2 separate regions of the Homo sapiens genome follow, and region 1 is linked to region 2. Evidence: promoter capture Hi-C in 16 types of primary human blood cells and fetal thymus (Javierre and others, 2016). All regions are on one chromosome and are shown on one strand. The core of a region is centred on a gene start or on the middle of the fragment in contact, and the rest is flanking DNA. Distances in the headings are between cores, read along the strand shown. Region 1 overlaps LOC107985841 (a long non-coding RNA gene). Region 2 holds the start of NRIR (negative regulator of interferon response).

Region 1 (2,700 bases), core at 89-2,588, 2.7 Mb after region 2:
CACACAGGAGCTCACCTCACATTTTAAGGACATCAAATAGAACTCACCAAACAACACCTGAATGATTCCAGTGTGAGTGAATCAGAAGCAGATAGATCAAATTTCTCCTAAACTGCATTTGCAGTTTAAAAAATCAAAGTGAAAACTGCCTTGGCCATAAGTCATTTATTTTTATCTTGAATTTAAAAATCAATGTGTTCTTCATGGCAGCCTCTGGGTAAAGATACAATAACATAAATATAATTAATGACCAATCAGCAGCAGAACCCCACTAGACTCAAACCTCATCCCCCTCATTCTTGTCATTTATTTGTTGAAATATCAACTTCCCATAAAGATGGAACAGCCTTAAACTCCAGTTCACTGGTTTAGAAACAGCACCAACCTGACAGGCATGTGGTGAAACCAGAGCTAATATTTACCGAACACTTTGACCACCTAATATGCTATACTGGCAGCAAATATCATTGTGAACTTTCTCTCTCAGATCATTTAAACCAGTGTTTGCATAATACCAAGATCTAAAAATGCAATGAATCATTTTAAAACATAAAACAAAAGTGAAAGACTTTAGAGATTAAACTGATAATAATTCTGTCAACTGGGCATAAAGCATTGTTTCTAGGCACTGTGTGGAAGTTTGCTGGAAATAACACTGACATAGTAACTGTATAAAGGTATCATACACTCCAGTTGCATCTTCCAATGGCTGACGATGGTCAATGGTTGGAACACTTGAGAGGTATGCGAGATTCCCCAAGTGCTCCAGGGCAGTGGATCTCACACTTGAGCAAGCATCAGCATCCACTGGAGGGCTGTTCAAACACAGCGACCCACGTCCAGGGTTCTGGTTGAGTGGGTCTGGGGTAGAACTTGAGAATGCAAGTTTCTAGCCAATTTTAAGGTCATGCAGATGCCGTTGTCCTACATACTATACTTTGTTGTTACTGTTGTTGTTTTTGAAACAGAGTCTCACTCTATCGCCCAGGCCAGCATGCAGTGGCAGGATCTTGGCTCACTGCAGCCTCCACCTCCCAGGTTCAAGTGATTCTCCTGCCTCAGCCTCCTGAGTAGCTGGGATTACAGGCACTCACCACTATGTCCCGCTAATTTTTGCATTTTTAGTAGAGATAGGGTTTCACCATGCTGGCCAGGCTGGTCTTAAACTCCTGACCTCTGGTGATCTGCCTGTCTCAGCCTCCCAGAGTTCTGGGATTACAGGCACAAGCCACCACACCCAGCCCCTAGGTACTATACTTTGAAATTCACTCTTCTACCAAATGCACATCCTTAAAGATGTTGTCTAAGTCCATTAGGGCTACCATAACAAAATACCTTAGACAAGGTGACTTATAAACAACAGAAATTTGTTGTTTATAAGGCTGAGAAGTTCAGGATCTGAGAAGGCTGAGAAGTTCAGGATCAAGCCACCAGCAAAGTAAATGTCTGGTGAGGATCCAGTTTCTGGTTAACAGATAACACCCTCTCACTATGTCTTCTCATGGTAGGAGGACAAACAGGCTCCCCAGGGCCTCTTATATAAGGGCACTAATCCCAGTCAGGAAGGCCCCAACCTAAAGGTTCTACTTCTTAATACTAATGCATTGGAAATTAGGTTTCAACTTATGAGTCTAGGGAGACACAAACATTCATATCATAGCAGATACAAATAGATCCTATTTCCACTTCTCTTTATAATCAATCAATAAAATGTTGCTTCCTCTAATAGGAGCCATTTAGAGAAGCCCTAAGGCCAGAGAAAGGAAGCACACATGGCCAAAAGTGGGCATTAGGTATGGGGGCACAAGACTTGGCCAACAGGTCCCTTCGTCAGTCAGCTGATAGCACTCTCTACCTTGGGGCTTTTAACTTTCTTAGAGTCGTAATTAATGCTTTTATTCCTTGTCTTAATTTTATATTGCTTATTCCTTGTTTCTCACACAAGCCCCACAAAGTTGAGATTACTAACTCATCTGACAGATATGGTGCCTGAGTTTTAAGCTGCTTAAGCAATGTAACTATGTTTACCCAGCTAGTATCAGACACTAAGTGTCAGAGCTGGGATTCAGACTTGCAACTGCATCAGTCTGACCCCAGTGTATCTGTCCATACCCTTGTACTTTATAGTATTACTGACCCCAGTGAATCTGTCCATACCCTTGTACTTGATAGTACTATACATATAGTATTATATATACTATATATTATGTACATATAAATATAGTAGTACTATATATATGCAAAACTATATATATGTATAGTTATACATACATTATTTAGATTTATATGTTTATTTGATGCCCCTACTACTGTAGGGAACCTGAAGGTCATACCTCTATTCTGTATTGCTAGCTCCTTGCTCAATGCTAGGTACGTAACAGGTGCTCCTTCATTCAGTATTTCTGAATTCCTTCTACGTGCCAGATACTGCCTTAATAAAACCAGAGAAGGAAAGAAACTCAGGTCACTACTTGGGGAAAGACTGACAATAGCCATAATAGCAAAGTCACACATCATGTTACCAGATGAAAAGTGCTGTGTGCAAAAATTAGAGCAGGGTCAGAGGGGCCTGAATGGACAAATGAATGGACGAATTATTATTAATTCCTAGAAAATTCACCTTCCAAATAGGAGTGTCCCTTTTATATTTCTACGGACATAGGAAAGACACTCAGATTAGGTTACAAATTGAGTTTCCCT
Region 2 (2,700 bases), core at 150-2,649:
CATTAGGAAATAGATTGTTGTCCTCAGTTTTCCTTCTGCAGGAAGTGGCAATGATACATTGCAAAGGACACCAGAAGGGGATGGATGAAATAGCTGAAGGAAATAGGCTAGCAGACCAAACAGCTAAGTCAGCAGTAAGAAGACCCCAAAGTCCCAGCACACTTGAAGGCTGTCTAATTTGGGAGGGCTCCATAAGGGAAATAAAGCCTCAGTATTCTCCTGCAGAGATAGAATGGGCCACCTCTCGAGGATACACTTTTCAGCCCTCAGGATGGTTACAATCAGAGGATGGCAAATGTTATTTGTCAGTCTCCAGTCAGTGGAAAGTTCTTAAGATCCTTCACCAAACTTTTCACTTGGGAAAGAATAAAACTCATCAAATAGCCCAGAGGTTGTTCTCAGGTAAATATCTACCAAAAACAGTCAAACAAATTGTTAATGCTTATAAGATCTGCCTCAAAAACAATCCCCTCAACAAATGGCATCTCCCCATCCCCAGCAACACAAAGAATGGGAAACTGCCCAGGGGAGGACTGGCAAATGGATTTTACCCATTTTCCAAAGATAAGGGGAATTCAGCACCTCTTGTTGTGGGTGGATGCCTTCACTAGCTGGGTAGAGGCATTTCTATGTCAAACAGAAAGTCCTCTAAGGTGATAAAAGCATTAGTCAATGAAATAATTCCTCGTTTTGGACTCCCTAAATACCTCCAAAGTGACAATGGCCCCTCATTTAAGGCAGCTGTTACCCAAGGGGTCTCAAAAGCACTGAGCATACAATACCATCTTCATTGTGCTTGAAGACTGCAGTCTTCAGGGAAGGTGGAGAAAACAAATGATATCATTAAGAGACACCTCAGGAAGTGGTCTCAAGAAACTCACCTCCTCTAAACTGCTTATCTTCCTATAGCCTTAGTGCAGGTGAGGAGCACCCCTTCAAATTTGGGGTTGAAGGGGTGTTCCTTCACCCTTTTGAAATGGTATATGGACGGCCTTTCCTTACCAATGATTTTATATTACATCAGAGAACTTCTGAATTGGTTAAACATGTAACCTCCCTGGCCCAGTTCTAGCAGGAATTAAAACAGTTATCAGAATTCCAACCCCAAGAACTAGGGCCACCTCTGTTCTACCAAGGAGACTTGGTACTGGTGAAGGATTTTTCCTCTCTTTTCCCCTCTCTAGGTCCCAGCTGGGAGGAACCTTATACCATCCTTCTCTCCACCTGCTCGGCAGTGAAGTTTGTGGGACTGGAATCTTGGATTCATCACACTCGAGTCAAGGCCTGGAATGACCCCTGACATCCCAGAAGAACATCTCAGATATCAGTGTGAAAAGTCTGGGGATTTCAAACTGAAAATCCAAAAGATAAGTAAATGAGTGGGAACTCTCTGTTCAGTTCAATCCCACCCTTCCTTACCAGATACTAAAGTCATTTCTACCTTTCCTCTTGAGATTTGCTGTTAGATATTAGAACTTCTCTTTGTCACATACTTACAGGGAGATTTTGATTATCCATGGGATTCCATTCATAACCTCATAAACCACCCCCACGAAGAAATTATATATCTCGGTGAGTAAGATTTAAAGTGGAACTTTATTACTTCACACATATGGGAATTGTTGTACTCACCTTGCTCTTTGCAGTAGGACTGCATACTGTGGCACCTTCTAAGTGGAATATTGGGAAAAGAGTCTCAATTGCCATAATCTTTTGCTTAGTTATTATTCATATAGCAGGGATAGTAGTCACAGGCAAGAGATAAACATGAAGATTTTGTTACTATCAAGTTTACTAGCATTCACTGTTAGATGTAGCAATGCCTCACATTCTTTGGCTCCTACAATATCAGATATTACCGATCTCTACAACAAGACTGATTACTGGGTTTGCCCTGAACAATTTACTCAGTTTAATAACACCAATGGACTCTTTGATGATTCAGAACTCACTATCTTAGGGTTTCCCTCTGATGGCTTTACCTTAAATCATTAAGGACCTAATAGGTATAAAGGGAACATGGTATGGGAGCATTTTTAACTCCACCCAGAAAGACACACCTCCTGATGGTAAAACTCACACCCTTAGACTAGGTGAAGTTGATAGAATGATAGCCAATGCCTGTCTCTGCTTTAAGAGTAAAGGAAAAGGACCATACTCGGGAAACCTTAAATAATTGCAACAGTATGCTTGTAATTGCTGAGAGCACAGAGATCTGGAGACTAAGAAGGAACAAGGGTGACACCAAACATTGGGAGAGACTGTGGAAAAATTTTAACAATCTAGCCAGACCTCCCAGGTGGAGTTCCCAATGGGAATGTCTACCCCGGGCAGAAATGCCACCCCTCGCCAACCTTATTATCAGGTAATAAATAGCACATGGTCCTTCCCAAACATGCCCACACATGGAATCCTGGACCCTTGTATGATATTTGATAATGACAGTGATCTGCAGATTTGTGAATGAACAGGGGATGTCTGGGCCAATAGCCGCTGTAAGGAGGGTTGTCTAAGATACTGGCTGGAACATATTGCGTCTCTGATCTTTCAAAACTATATTTGCCAAACAGATTCTTCCCTCCCAGCATGTAAAGTTCCAAACAATACTGTGGATGACTATACTAAGTATGGATATCCTTATTCTAAAGATGCTTGAATTAGATGTAGGGAAGGCAACCTTATAAGGCCTGGACTAAACTT

Evidence for each region. Contacts are between HindIII fragments. The CHiCAGO score rates a contact against its expected background, and 5 or more counts as called.
Region 1: a contact is called between a fragment that was not itself captured here and the fragment with the promoter of NRIR in region 2, in 1 of 17 cell types (M0 macrophages). The highest score is 5.5, in M0 macrophages.

The regions. Positions count from the first base shown.
Region 1 is chr2:4,137,619-4,140,318 of GRCh38, reverse strand. All of the region lies in intron 1 of LOC107985841 (a long non-coding RNA gene), which reads left to right. Among named protein-coding and RNA genes, the nearest start is that of LINC01304, 160 kb to the right of the region's middle. The HindIII fragment of the contact is 4,649 bases long and covers 1-2,700 here.
Region 2 is chr2:6,839,163-6,841,862 of GRCh38, reverse strand. It overlaps NRIR (negative regulator of interferon response), which reads left to right and starts at 1,399. Exons shown (of 4, transcript NR_126359.1): 1 at 1,399-1,572. It also overlaps a transcript of CMPK2 not described here. The HindIII fragment of the contact is 12,024 bases long and covers 1-2,700 here.